Linked DNA regions of Homo sapiens: all the other regions are linked to region 1. Evidence: promoter capture Hi-C in human tissues and cell types (Jung and others, 2019). All regions are on one chromosome and are shown on one strand. The core of a region is centred on a gene start or on the middle of the fragment in contact, and the rest is flanking DNA. Distances in the headings are between cores, read along the strand shown. Region 1 holds the start of NFIC (nuclear factor I C). Region 2 holds the start of RAX2 (retina and anterior neural fold homeobox 2). Region 3 overlaps TLE2 (TLE family member 2, transcriptional corepressor). Region 4 holds the start of ZNF57 (zinc finger protein 57).

Region 1 (3,495 bases), core at 152-2,651:
GACCCCCTCAGCACCAGCTCCCACATTCCCTGTCGGCTGCAGGGGGCCGGTGAGAAAGACCCTACCAAGGAGCATGCCTGGCGTGGGGGGTCCCTCACTGCACCATGCCCTGGAGCGGAAGCCGGGGACTCATATACTCCCCACACAGTGCTTCTTAAGACGGGCCTGGCCCTCGCTGGAATCGCACCCCCCACGTGCCGGGACTTTACAGTTTGCCCGCCATACTGTCCCCTCTCCAGAACCGGCCTTAGCCGCACCTCACTTCAGGGGAAACTGAGGCCAGAACCTCTCCAGCCTAAAGACACACTGCGTAAGGAGGAAAGCAGCGGTCTAGAAAACGGAACTTGCAGACCTCGGGGTCCCCGGGAGCCTGGGCTGGAAGGAGTCCCCGGGGGGAGCCGCCCCCTCCCCACACACCCCCTCGGCCATTGCACAAGGCTCGGCCCCGGGGCAGTCTGGGAGTGCGGCCAGGGGTGAGAGGCTACGGGAGGGGGAGGGGGAGGGGGAGGGGACGGGGCAGGTGCCGGGCTGGCGAGGGCGTCCGCAGCGCCGCAGTGCCCGGGCCAGACCCGGAGCGCCGGGCCTCCCGCTCCTCCCGGCGGCGGCTCCAGAATCCAGAATCCAGAATCCAGAATCGATGCAGCGAAAATACCGGGACGGTGCTGGGGGGCTTGCAAAGGAGGGGGGACCCAGCCGGGCCGCCGGAGCACCCTTCCCCCTCCTGGGCCTCCAACTTCTCCTGCCCCCTCCCCCTCCATGCACACGTGGGCCAATAACGAGGGAAAGGCGACCGAGGGCCAGGGCGGCCCGCACAACCTTGGTGGGGGGACACGGGGAAAACACATGAGAGGTCCCTTTCTCTCCAGCTGGGGAGACCCAGGGTCCAATCACGACCCCCTAGATTCCTCTCAGAGGCAGGCGGGGGGCTTCCCGCAGAGCCCTTGCTGGAGGGGGGCCAGCCCCCACCCCGACCTTTCCGAGTGTCGGGGCGGGGGTGCGGAGTGCGTCGGTGTGTGGGGGGGGGACGCAAATCTGCAGACCAAGCCCCACATCCGGGAGAGGTCCCGAGAGTCGGGGTTGGGGGTGCTGGGCGGGAGTCCCGCGTAGGGGGTCCGCGGTAGGTAAGGGTGTGGGGGGGGTACCCCAGCCTGACCCATCCCCCCACCGGACCCCAGCCCTCGGCGCGGGGGGCATCCCGGGCAGGGATGGCGGGAGGGACGCGCGCCTTTTTCGTCCCGCCTCCTCCTGCTTCAAAACTCCGGGGCTGGGATGCGGGGGGCGCGGGGGCGCCGGCGGGGGGCCGGGCGAGGACCGTACCTGGGTGAGGCAGAGCGGGGACGAATACATCCCGGGCGCGGCGGGAGGCGCAGGGCCGGCCGGAGCGGGCGCGCTGAACTTACTGAGTCATTTTTCCAAACCACCCCCCCGCCCCCCCCAACCCCCCCCCCCGCCCCGCGGCCGGCGCGCTCTCCTCGCCGCCTCCTCCCTCGGTCTCCCTCCTCCTCCCTCCTGCTCTCCCTCTCTCGCGCCGCCCGCCTCGCTCTCTGTCCCTCTCTCCCTCCGTCTCTCTCTTCCTCTCTCCCCCGTCTCTGTCTCTCTGTCTCTCTCTCTACCCTCTGACACCCTCCCCCTCCCACCCCGAACCTCCCACTTCTCAACACCCAACTTTCAAAGAAACGAGGGAAAAAAGGGCGCGAGCGAGAAAGGAGAGCCTCCCCCGACGTCTCAGGACCCCCCCGCTCCTCCCGTATTTACGCAATGCCCCAGGGCACTAGACCAGGACCCCAGGACTGCAGGGCGACCCCAATTCGGATCAAGCGGAGAGGGGGGACAGGGTTGTTTCTGGACATTGAGGGGCCAGGGGTGGATTTTTAAGGCCCCCCCTCCCCACCCCCCCATCACCCCCGAGCTGGCCGGGAAGTTGGAGGAAAGAGCCAGGGGGGAGGGAAGGAATGAAGAAGTGACGTGCGCAGAGGCCGGCCAGCGCGCCTCTTTCCCCTTAAAGATGTACGACCCTGGGTGCACGGTGAGCTGGTCCCACAGCACCCTGGCTCCCTTCTCCCCCCAGAGCCAGGCAGGGGCTGCGGGTCCCCAGCTAGAGGGGCTTGTGTGCAGCTGTCCCTTCCTTGGCCAGAAGGGCCCAGGCTAACACGGGAGGCTCCAGAATTTGCTCTCTTCACCCAGCACCCAAGGGGCAGGGGAGGGGTGGCCTCGCCTGTGTGTCTCTCCAGCACCCCAGGAGGACGGTGTCCAGGCGGGATCTCCAGCTGGCCAGATAAACCCTTGCAGCCTCCCCCTGGGTATCCAATAATTTCCACCTGCCTCAGGGGTGTGCCCTTTTCACAGATCTCAAGACTGAGGTATGGCAAGTGTGGCTTGGAGCCAGGCCATCTGGACCTGGAGCCCACATTCTGTTCTCCTTCTAGACGTAACAGGGCAGAGACCTGGCCTGCCTCCGTCTGAGCCCCCAGGGCATCTGATGACAGGGCCCCAACCCTCCCCCGGTTCACTCCCTGGATCCTCCCAGGCTAGCTCAGAGGCTGCTGTGTCTCTCATTCCCATCCCAAGGGTTCTCCCCTATAAAGTGGCTTAAAGATGCCCATCCTGTGGGATTGCTGGGGATAAGGACAATGACCTTAGCAGAGCCTTGACCTTGGGTCAAATGTTCACTAAAGACACATTCTTAGAAAGCTTGGCCATTTCACCTCATCTCTCTGAGCTTCCCAAGGACAAATGATACCCTCTCACCAAGCTGGGGCAGGTGCCCCAGGCCCAGGGGCGCAGAAGATACCAGCACCCATTATCCTCAGGCATTACAGGAGAGGAAACTGAGGCCCAGAGAACGGAAGCCACTTGCCCAGGGTCTGACAGGTAAACTAGGAGGGAGCAGAATTCCTGCAGCGTAGGTTCCCTAGGCCCCCCACAGGCTCCCCTCTGCATGACGGTGACATTATTCAAACAGTGCTTAGTACATCACGAACGGTCCATAAATGTGTGTGTCTGTGTATTTTAAACCCACTGTGCAGCTGTGGGGAGCATTTGAATTAAATGGTGAGAAGTGTATCTGGAAATCCACATACCAATATAACGTGAAGCAATTTATTTTATTAAAACACGCTAGGGACACATACAGGGTGAAATCTAAAATTCACAGATATTTAAAAGTTGCAGTTGACTTCAGACACTCCTCCTAGACTTCCAGACCCCGTGCCTTCCACCCTCCCTCCCCTGTACAGACCACCCTGCCTGCAGCCTTCATTCAGCAGCTTAGAATCCTTTGGAAGGTGAAGTTTAGAGAGCAGAGACTGCCCCTCTTGGAACCTCGGTTTCCTCATCTGTAAAATGGCTATAGTAACAGGATGCATCTTGGGAGGTGGGGAAGGTTGGAGTCTTTACATAGCATGTGGGAAGGCTGTGTGAATATTATTGGTGGCGGTAGCTGCAGGGAGAAACTTCTGCAAGTGTACGAACAGCAGCCTATATCCCAGTTTGGGT
Region 2 (3,526 bases), core at 524-3,023, 410 kb before region 1:
TCCCCAGCACTCCATCCTTCACACCCCATGTGTCCAGAACTTGCGGCTTTGCACTCCATCTTCCATTCTCACCACCTTCCTTAACATAGCAACCCGACTGGTCGCGGTGGCTCACGCCTGGAACTCCTGCACTATGGGAGGCCGAGGCAAGTGGATCACCTGAGGTCAGGAGTTCAAGAGCAACCTGGCCAACACGGTGAAACCCCATCTTCAGTAAAAATACAAAAATTAGCTGGGCGTGGTGGCGCACCTGTAATCCGAGCTACTCAGGAGGCTGAGGCAGGAGAATCACTTGAACCTGGGAGGCGGAGGTTGCAGTGAGCCGAGATCTCACCACTGCACTCCAGCCTAGGCAACAGAGTGAGACTCCTTCTCAAAAAAACAAAAATAGGCCAGGCGGGGTAGCTCACACCTGTAATGCCAGCACTTTGGGAGGCCAAGGCAGGCGGATCACGAGGTCAGGAGTTCAAGACCAGCCTGGCCAAGGTGGCGAAACCGTGTCTCTACTAAAAAATACAAAAATTAGCCAGGCGTGGTTGCAGGTGTCTGTAATCCCAGCTACTCAGGAGGCTGAGGCAGGAGAATTGCTTGAACCCAGGAGGCGGAGGTTGCAGTGAGCTGAGATCGTGCCACTGCACTCCAGCCTGGGCGACAGAGTAGGACTCTGTCTCAAAAAAAAACCCAAAAACTAAATGAAATATCAACCCACCTTGCCCCCACAGGCCCCCCTCCGTGGGTTTTCTCCCTAGGCTCGTGGCCACTGGCCACGCTCTGCATTTTAACACAGTGGTTGGTTGTCTGTCTGCCCTGCTAGAAAGTCAGCCCCGTGACTTCTGTCTGTTTTGGTCACTACTGCTGTGAGCAGTACCTGGTACACAGTAAGTGCTCAATAAATGTTTATTGAATGGTGAACTTCTGTTTTTCTTTTTTGTTGGTGGTGGTTTTGGTTTTTTGTTTTTTTTTTTTTTTGAGATGGAGTTTCACTCTGTTGCCCAGGCTGGAGTGCAATGGCATGACCTTGGCTCACTGCAAGCTCCACCCCACCAGGTTCAAGCAATTCTCCTGCCTCAGCCTCCCGAGTAGCTGGGAGTTATAGGCACCCACCACCACGCCTGGCTAATTTTTGTATTTTTAGTAGACAGGGTTTTGCCATGTTGGCCAGGCTGGTCTCAAACTCATGATCTCAGGTGATCCGCCCGCCTCAGCCTCCCAAAGTGCTGGGGTTACAGGCGTGAGCCACTGCGCCCGGCTGTGAATGGTGAACGTCTATTCATACCTCCAGACCCAGCTAAAAGGGTCCCTACCCCTTGTGTCCAGAGGAACCAACTGCAGTGCCTTCACCTCTGGACCTCAGCTTCCCCAACTGCCTCTGACATCTGTGAGTTCTAAGACACCTTTTTCTGCCCCCAGCAGATAAAAATATTAACAGTGAGCATTCATTAAGTGCCCCCTGTATGCCAATTTCTGTGCGATGCTCTGAGAAGCTGAAATCCCCCCAGGGTAGGTCCTAGTGTGGCAGTTTTACAGCCAGGGAAACTGAGGCCCAGAGAGGGAGAGGCCCTTGCCGTCTTATGGCAAGGGGCCGTGGAGCCTGTAAGACTATCCCCCCAGCCACCCACTTAGAGCCCCAGCCCTCCATCCACCCTGCCCTCCCTCCTGGCTCAGAACAGCCCAGGACCAAGTGGGAGGGGCCGCCTCAATTAATCACCTTGAGCTAATCCTCCCCCACGCAGCCCCGACCTGGCTCGGCTCCGGCAGGGCCAGGCCACAGCAGACGCAGCGCCAGGCCCGCTGGGGCAGGTGTCCCGTGGAAATCGACGGAGGGGCTGCCGTGGGCGGTGAGTGCGGGGTGGGCACTGGTGGGCCTGGGTAGGAGGTGGTGGGGGCAGAGATCCCCTCAGGGTGGAGGGCTTAGGGCGTGAGAAGGGATCCTGCCTTCCTTGACGGGGGGGCATCCTTGACCCCCCCCCGCCGACACACACACACACAGGCCGTGACAGTCACAGAGAGGGGAAGAGAAAACAGGGACGGTGACACACACAGAGAGAAGGAAGAGCAGACAGAGGCACAGCAGGAGACCCCCCCAAGCCCGAGGAGGACAGCCTGGGGATGCAGAGCGCATGCCGGCCCCAGTGGAGGGAACCGATTTCCCCGGAGCCGGGAGGCAAGCCTGGGGCTCCCCTGCCCTGTCCCTGCCGGTAGCCCCCCCAGCCGTCTCCCCACCATCTGTCCCGCTGCCGTCCCACCAGGTGGGAGCCATGTTCCTGAGCCCGGGCGAGGGGCCGGCAACCGAGGGTGGGGGTCTGGGGCCGGGCGAGGAGGCCCCCAAGAAGAAGCACCGGAGGAACCGCACCACCTTCACCACCTACCAGCTGCACCAGCTGGAGCGGGCGTTCGAGGCCTCTCACTACCCGGATGTGTACAGCCGTGAGGAGCTGGCAGCCAAGGTGCACCTACCTGAGGTGCGCGTGCAGGTGAGGGCACCCCCCAACACACACATCTTTTGCAACCTGGGGAGGGAGGCAAAGCAAGATCCTGACCCTCCCGGAGCAACAGCAGAAGAGAAGCTAGGAAGGCTTCCTGGAGGAGGGGGTGTGGGAGCTGAGGTTTTGACATTTGAGTAGGAGTGTGCCAGCTGGGAAGGAAAAGGGGAGTTTTTCTAGGCATCCTGAACAGTGTGTGCAAAGACATGGAGGGGTTAAGTTGGAGGCGTTTCCCTTGAGCCAGGGGTGAAGGAGGAGGCAGAGAATGGTGTGGGTAACAACGCTTTTGAAGGCCTTGAATGCCACGTTAGGCAGCTCAGGTTACTTGCTAAGGGCCAAGGGAGGCCAAGGAGGGGAGTGAGGAGTTGGAGGGGAGCCTGGGCTTAGGGAACGCTTGGGAGATCCTCATCTTCTTGGGGCAGAACAGCGAAGCAGCAGGTAGGAGTCGGGTCAGACGGGAGTCAGAACCCCCAGGGCTGGGGTGTGCAGAGGGGGTCCGAGGATTGGCGGGGAGCGGCTGAGCTCACAGCAACCCCCCTTCCCTCTCGCACCCTCCAGGTGTGGTTCCAGAACCGCCGGGCCAAGTGGCGCCGCCAGGAGCGGCTGGAGTCAGGCTCGGGTGCCGTGGCAGCTCCGAGACTCCCCGAGGCCCCAGCGCTGCCGTTCGCCCGCCCCCCGGCCATGTCGCTGCCCCTGGAGCCCTGGTTGGGCCCCGGACCGCCGGCCGTGCCAGGCCTCCCCCGCCTCCTGGGCCCGGGCCCGGGGCTGCAAGCGTCCTTCGGGCCTCATGCCTTTGCTCCCACCTTCGCAGATGGCTTCGCCCTGGAGGAGGCGTCCCTGCGGCTGCTGGCCAAGGAACATGCACAGGCTCTGGACAGGGCCTGGCCGCCAGCCTGAGCCTGCCGCCCTCCCGGGCCCCCTCCTCGGCCCAACCCGAGAACCGGGGACGTGCCCTGGTGACAGCCACCACGCCTTGGCCTAGGCCGAGGTCATGGAGCAACCGTGGTCAGGCCAGGCCACCACCACTGGGGAGCGGGACCAGA
Region 3 (3,641 bases), core at 227-2,726, 340 kb after region 1:
GGGCACCTGGGCCCAGACCCTCTCCAGATGAAATCCTTCCCTTGAGTGTGGCGTGCTGAGATCTCCACCTGGAGGCATCCCCAGCTGGTAGATCAGTCCTGGGAAGCGGAGGAGACCAAGAAAGGGGCCTTGCCTGGGACAGACGTGGGCCAAGCCGGGGCTGGAATCTGGGACTCCAGGCGGAGGCCCCTTTCCTTTGTTTCAGCTGAGCCCAGCACCTCTGAGTGTCTGCGTCTGAGTTGGGTGTCTGAGCGTCTGCCTCCTGCAAATCCCTGGCGGGTGTGCGTCTGGCGGGTGGTGTATCTGTGACTCGTAGGACCTCAGCCCTGGTCTTCCCAGCTCCAGGCCACCCTGGGCCTCGCTCAGCTGAGCACGCAGCCTGGTGGGGCTCTGAATCCCACCTCGGCCCATGCCATGCTAGCCTGAGTTCCCTCTGTGCACCTGCGGGCGTCACCTCCCCAACCCTTCGGCTTTGCCAACACCTGGTCCGCCTGGGAGTCCAGAGCTGGGTTGCAAATCTCTACCCCGCTCCAAGCTTCCTCTCATTGCTTCCTGCCAGGCGGAGATTGTGAAGCGTCTGAGCGGTATCTGCGCTCAGATTATCCCCTTCCTGACCCAGGAGGTGAGTGGGCCTGGGGGTGGGGGGAGGAGGGGAAGGGAGCCGGAAGAAGACGGGAGGGGGTAGGTCTGGGCGAGGACGCCCCAGGCACTGATTCTGCCGCGTAGCCTGCAGCACGGATAGAGACCATTTTCACTGCAGTAGTCCCGCAGCCCTGAGGCCAGGCATCCCGCTGGGGCAGGGGCTGCAGGGATGGAGGGAGGTGTTGGCTGAGGGTGAGGACTGGGGGCTGTTTTCCCCCTTGATGGGAAGCAAGGCATAGAGCTGACCCCCTCAAGCCCTGCAAGTTGGCTGCCTGGGTCTGAATCCTGGCTGTGTGGCCTCAGGCAGGACACTTGTCTCTGTTTTTTCAGTAGCGTAGGTGTGAAGTTGAGATGAGCTCATACACCCAGGGTGCTGGAGATGATGGGTACGCTTACTCAGCACCTGATGAAAGTTAACCCTACCGTCTTGCTAGAAGAAGTCACTGAGGGACAAACACTGGGTGATCCACTCCTAGGAGGTCCCAGGGTCGTCAGGTTCACTGAGACAGAAAGCAGAATGGGGGGTGCCAGGGGTTGGGGAGGGGACGGGGAGTGAGAGTTTTATGGGGACAGAAATTCAGTTTGGGAAGATGGGAAAATTCTGGAGATGGTGCTGGGGATGGCTGCACAACCGTGTGTGTGCTTTATGCTGCTGAGCTGTGCACTTACAAATGGTTAAAATGGACTGTAATTCGGCCAGGTGCGGTGGCTCCTGCCTGTAATCCCAGCATTTTGGGAGGCTGAGGCAGGTGGATCACCAGAGGTCAGGAGTTCGAGACCAGCCTGTCCAACATGGTGAAACCCTGTCTCTGCTAAAACTTAAAAAAAAAAATTAGCCGGGCATGGTGGTGTTTGCCTGTAATCCCAGCTACTCGGGAGGCTGAGGCAGGAGAATAGAATTGCTTGAACTCAGGAGGCGGGGGTTGCAGTGAGCAGAGATTGCGCCGCTGCACTCCAGCCTGGGTGAGAGAGTTAGACTCCATCTCAAAAAAAAAAAAAAAAAAAGTTAGCTCTTCTGAGAGTGCCCCAGGTTCCTTTCATCCTCAGTACCTTTGCACAGTCCCTGTTTCTTTTTTCTTTTTCTTTTCTTTTGTGTGTGTGTGTGTGTGTGATGGATTCTTGCTCTGTTACCCAGGCTGGAGTGCAGTGGCATGATCTTGGCTGACTGCAACCTCCACCTCCTGGGTGCAAGCGATTCTCATGCCTCAGCCTCCTGAGTAGCTGGGATTACAGGCGTGCACCACCACGCCCGGCTAATTTTTGTATTTTTAGTAGAGACGGGTCTCCCTATGTTGCCCGGGCTGGTCTCGAACCCCCGGACTCAAGCAATCCGCCCGTGTCAGGCTCCGAGTGTTGGGTTTACAGGTGTGAGCCACTGTACCCAGCCTGCACTGTCCCTGTTTCTGTGTGGTACGTTCTCTCTTCAGAGAGACGTGAAAGATAGTTCTACTTCAGAGTGGATACACTGGGAGGATCCTTGATGCCTTGAGGACCAAACCCAGAGGGGAGATGCTCAGTTTGTTCAGATTCCACTGAGTCTGAGATTTCTGGAAGCTTGGGGTGGGGAGAGGTCCTGTGTAGACACAGAACATAAAGAGCATCTGCAGCGGAAAGTGGGGACGAGGTGGTCTAGAGAAAGGCAAGAGCCGCAAGAAGTTTAGGTAGGCCGAGCCCAGTGGCTCACGCCTGTAATCCCAGCACTTTGGGAGGCCAAGGCGTGCGGGTCATGAGGTCAGGAGTTTGAGACCCACCTGGCCAGTATGGTGAAACCTCATTTCTACTAAAAATACAAAAATTAGCTGGGCTAGTCCCAGCTACTCGGGAGGCTGAGGCAGGAGAATTGCTTGAACCCGGGGGGTGGAGGTTGCAGTGAGCCGAGTTCGCACCATTGCACTCCAGCCTGGGCAACACAGCGAGATTCTGTCTCAAAAAAAAAAAAAAAAGATTAGGTAAAATGACTGTTGAAAGGAATGAGTAAGGCACACATTTCCAGGAATTAGCAAACTGCAGCTCGAGGGCCAGCTCCACCCCTCCACTTGTTTTTGCAAATAAAGTTTTATTGACATAGCCACGCCCACTCATGTACATATCATTTCCAGCAGCTTTCCCATTACAGTGACAGAGTTTGGTAGTTGCAACAGAGACCTCTGGCCTGCAGAGGGAAAATGTTTTCACTCTCTGGCCCTTTCTAGAAAGTCTTCCAACCCATCCTACACACACCCACACACAGGTGCACCCCCATGGGAGCTCTGTATCCGCATCCTGATACCTCCTTGGTGGAGACAGCCCAGATGTCTGTCTTCAGGAGCGTGTATACACAAGCAGCCTCAGAGTGCATACAGTGGAATATACTACTGTTCCGCTATCCTACACGGCAGTCACCAGCCCCGTGTGATCATTTACACTTAGGTTAACTATTAATAATATTTAAATCTATTATTTTTTTCCTTAAAAAAATTTTTTTTTTTTTTGAGACAGAGTCTTGCTCTGTCGCCCGGGCTGGAGTGCAATGGCACGATCTCAGCTCACTGCAATCTCTGCCTCCTGGGTTCAAGCGATTCTTCCACCTCAGCCTCCCGAGTAGTTGGGATTACAGGCACCCACCATCATGCCGGCTAGTTTTTGTATTTTTGTAGATGGGGTGGGGGGGTGGTTTCACCATGTTGGCCAGGCTGGTCTTGAACTACTGACCTCAGGTGATCCATCTGGCTCGGCCTCCCAAAATGCTGGGATTACACGCGTGAGCCACCGCACCTGGCCTAAAAAAATTTTTTTTTACAAAAATTAGCTGGGTGTGGTGGCAGGTGCCTGTAATCCCAGCTACTCGGGAGGCTGAGGCAGGAGAATTGCTTGAACCTGGGAGGCGGAGGTTAGCGTGAACCGAGATCACGCCACTGCATTCCAGCCTGTGCGACAGAGTGAGACTCCGGCTTAAATAAGTATATATGTATAATGTAACAGAGAGGGAGTCTCACCATGTTGCCCAGGCTGGTCTCAAA
Region 4 (3,630 bases), core at 827-3,326, 470 kb after region 1:
TCAGCGGCCTCCAGTGCAGGCTCAACTGTGGGCTCAGCTGGAGTCACCGGTCTTGGGGCTCACCTCCCTGCTCCAGGTGCTACACTTTAAATGCCACAAAGACCCTCATCCCGTAGAGTGAGAATGCAGCAGAATCAGTGCTTTCCACCCCTTGTGTAAGTGGGGGAAGGGAGTTCCAAGGCAGTCTTTATGACTTTACATGGCCAGAAACTGCTTTTCCCAGTCAGCAAACAGATGATGGATCAGTGAAGCAATACTCCTGGTGACAAACTGGAAACTAACCAGAATGGAACACGCCTCAGTTTTACAGGTTTTTGCAGAATTTGCATTAATCTCATGTCTAGCTGAACTGAAATGGAACACGATCACACACTGTCGCAAACTCTGCACCTTGTATGGAAGAATAACTATTATTTTTTGTCTGATTGCTTTGGCATTTGAAAAACTACTATTTTTATGAACATTTTAATCCATCTCTAGCTGCTATAAGATGTGGAACTGCGCACACTTTCTCTACAATTCTGGTGGGAGACAGAATATTCCTGAGAGACTTCCTTAGGCCATGCTTAGCCTGTACCCCACGATAAACAGGTGTTATCCTGACGGACCAGAAGGCAGAAAACACACTTGAACATTTTCCTATTGTCACTAAGGAGAAGAAAAAAGCCAAACAGGAGAACAGTACAGTACATTTACTGACACCGGCTGCCCGAATAAAGCTTTCACAGCATTAGTGATACCCTGCAACAAAACCCCCAGGGCAGCTAACTCCCACCGCTGAGGTCGTCCCCCAAACTGCCTCTGACCCCCAGGCCGTCCCTTGCCATCCCCCCAAGCTGTCCCCTGTAAGGTTCTCTGAGCTGGCCGCACCATGGTCAAGCCCCCCGCCCTTGTGATAATGTACTTTGTGATATTCCCCCGCCCTTGTGAATGTACTTTGTACGATACGTCCTCCTCGCCCTTGTGAATGTACCCCGCCCTTGTGACAATACACGCTCGCGCCCTTGTGAAGGTACTTTGTAATATTCCTCCCAGCCCTTGTGACAATACATCCCCCAAGCCCTTGTGAATGTACTTTGAAACATCGTCGCCGCCCTTGAGAATGTACTTTGTAACACCCACCAACTGTCCTCAAAAAAACTGCTCCTAACTCCGATGCCTGTCCCAAACCTATAAGGACTAATGATTGCCGGGCGCGGTGGCTCACGCCTGTAATCCCAGCACTTTGGGAGGCCGAGGCGGGCGGATCACAAGGTCAAGAGATCGAGACCATTCTGGCCAACATGGTGAAACCCTGTCTCTACTAAAAACAAAAATTAGCCGGGCGTGAGGGCGGGCGCCTGTAATCTCAGCTACTCCGGAGGCTGAGGCAGGAGAATCGCTTGAACCCGGGAGGCGGAAGTTGCAGTGAGCCGAGATCACGCCACTGCACTCCAGCCTGGCGACAGAGCGGGACTCCGTCCCAAAAATAAAAAAAATAAAAAAATAAAACCAATAATAATCCCATCACCCTTTGCTGAGTCCTTTCTCAGACTCAGCCCACTTGCACCCAAGTGAGTAAACAGCCTTGTGGCTCACACTAAGCCTGCTCAGGTGACCTCTTATACGGACACGCGTAACATCCCCAACCTGCTGACCGTCCCTTGCCGTCCCCCCAAACTGGTCCCTGACCCCTGACCGCCCCTACCGTCCCCCCAAACTACCTCCAGCCCCCCTCCTGCCCAGGCCTCCCCCTAAGTTACCCCCAAGCTCCTTGCCGCCCCTTCCGTCCCCCCAAACTGCCCCCAGTCCTCCAGCCCGGCCGCTGTGATGGCGTCCCCGGGTCCCAGGTGCTAGTCCTGCGCCGCCCCGCGCGTCCCTCAGCCAATCCCGGCCGCAGACTTCGGCGGACTCTGGTTCCAGCCGGTTCCCGTCGCTCCGACCGTCCCCTGGCTCTGCTCCTGCCTCGCACTCACCATGTCTCCCCTGCTCCTGGGCTCTCCAAGGCGAGCTCTCCGTGGCCTCGCGGCCGGCGCAGCTGAAAGGTACAGGTACTCCCGGGCCGCTCGTGGTAGGCAGGGCACGCGCGGCAGGGAGGACGAAACGTCCCGCCCTCGGGGCCTCGGAGCTCAGGAAGCGGCGCCCTGATTGGACAATCTCTAAGCCCCCGCCCTTTCAACGCTCTGAGCGGACAGCGTTTTGGACACGCCCCCTTCACCCCTGGGGCCTTCGATTGGACACTACTGCAAACCTGCAATCCGCTTCCCGGTGTCCGCCCCGTGCCTTGATTGGACAGTTTTCCGGACCCGCCCCCGGAGCACCTGATTGGAAGATAACTTCCGCGCCGCCCCGCCTCCTGTCGCCCGAGTGACCGGCGCGTAGCCAACGCTAGTGGCTGACCCGCCAGCGGTGGACACTCCCGTTTGCGCGAACTCGCTCTGGCCCGGGGTGAGCCCAACCTCTCCCCGCAGCTCGGCCGCGCCTCCCGCGTCCTTCTCCCGAACGGGCACGAGAAGTCCAGACTCAGTTTCCCCACGGAGCAGCCGGAGTGCTGCGTGGAGGGGAGGGGCGAGCGAGCGGCGTGGGTCGCGTGGGGTGAGCCCTTCGTGGGGCGGGGTCCTCAGCCGTGACGTCACCGCGCTGCCCCGCGTGGGCGCGGACCCCATGGAGGCCCTGCCCCGTGCTGGAGCACGTGCTGTCAGTGTCCTGATTTTTTTTTTTTTTTTTTTTTTTTTTTTTGAGGTGGAGTCTCGCTCTGTCGCCCAGGCTGGAGTGCAGTGGCGCCATCTCGGCTCACTGCAAGCTCCGCCTCCCGGGTTCAGGCCATTCTCCTACCTCAGCCTCCCGAGTAGCTGGGACACAGGCACCCGCCACCACGCCGGCTAATTTTTTTGTATTTTTAGTAGAGACGAGGTTTCACCGTGTTAGCCAGGATGGTCTCGATCTCCTGACCTCGTGATCGGCCCGCCTCGGCCTCCCAAAGTGCTGGGATTACAGGCGTGAGCCACCGCGCACGGCCAGTGTCCTGATTTTTTTACCCAAACGTTTCCCAGCCTCCTGTCCTTCCCACAGGCCCCTGCACTTTGGCTCGCCCCCGACATCTGAGCCTGCACTAAAATAAGGACCAAACCTCGAGTCACCTGATCCCGAAAATGGGCGGACCCCAGGGAGCCCCTATCCTGTCTGGCCTCGCTGGATTTGTTTTTTTGTTGGACATTGTTTTTTGTTTTATTTATTTTTTTATTTTGAGACGGAGTCTCACACTGTCGCCCCGGCTGGAGTGCAGTGGCGTGATCTCGGCTCACTGCAACCTCCGCCTTCAGGGTTAAAGCGATTCTCCTGCCTCAGCCTCCCGAGTAGCTGAGATTACAGGCGCCTGCCACCACGTCCGGCTAATTTTTGTATTTTTAGTAGAGACGGGGGTTTCACTATGTTGGCCAAGCTGGTCTTGAACTCCTGACCTCGTGATCCGCCTGCCTCGGCCTCCCAAAGTGCTGGAATTAGAGGCGTGAGCTACCGCGCCCGGCGGACATTCTTTAGATCAAGAAATCCGGGGCCGGGCATGGTGGCCCAAGCCTGTAATCTCAGCACTTTGGGAGGCCGAGGCGGGTGGATCACGAGGTCAGGAGATCGAGACCATCCTGGCTAACA

Evidence for each region. Contacts are between HindIII fragments. The study calls those that stand out against the background at their distance.
Region 2: a contact is called between the fragment with the promoter of RAX2 here and the fragment with the promoter of NFIC in region 1, in 1 of the 25 tissues and cell types used here (heart right ventricle).
Region 3: a contact is called between a fragment that was not itself captured here and the fragment with the promoter of NFIC in region 1, in 1 of the 25 tissues and cell types used here (dorsolateral prefrontal cortex).
Region 4: a contact is called between the fragment with the promoter of ZNF57 here and the fragment with the promoter of NFIC in region 1, in 2 of the 25 tissues and cell types used here (mesendoderm cells and thymus).

Annotation. Positions count from the first base shown.
Region 1 is chr19:3,364,489-3,367,983 of GRCh38, reverse strand. It overlaps NFIC (nuclear factor I C), which reads right to left and starts at 1,401. Exons shown (of 11, transcript NM_001245002.2): 1 at 1,318-1,401. The coding sequence starts at 1,347. RefSeq lists silencers at 393-792, 1,083-1,232, 1,683-1,772. The HindIII fragment of the contact is 27,364 bases long and covers 1-3,495 here.
Region 2 is chr19:3,770,475-3,774,000 of GRCh38, reverse strand. It overlaps RAX2 (retina and anterior neural fold homeobox 2), which reads left to right and starts at 1,773. Exons shown (of 3, transcript NM_001319074.4): 1 at 1,773-1,838; 2 at 1,991-2,474; 3 at 3,042-3,526. The coding sequence starts at 2,259. The coding sequence ends at 3,380. RefSeq lists an enhancer at 2,981-3,480. The HindIII fragment of the contact is 8,287 bases long and covers 1-3,526 here.
Region 3 is chr19:3,022,001-3,025,641 of GRCh38, reverse strand. TLE2 (TLE family member 2, transcriptional corepressor) reads left to right here. Exons shown (of 20, transcript NM_003260.5): 5 at 560-622. Among named protein-coding and RNA genes, the nearest start is that of TLE2, 5.5 kb to the left of the region's middle. The HindIII fragment of the contact is 4,166 bases long and covers 1-3,559 here.
Region 4 is chr19:2,899,374-2,903,003 of GRCh38, reverse strand. It overlaps ZNF57 (zinc finger protein 57), which reads right to left and starts at 2,076. Exons shown (of 4, transcript NM_173480.3): 1 at 1,956-2,076. The coding sequence starts at 1,958. RefSeq lists enhancers at 1,879-2,028, 1,888-2,459 and a silencer at 2,639-2,688. The HindIII fragment of the contact is 10,438 bases long and covers 1-3,630 here.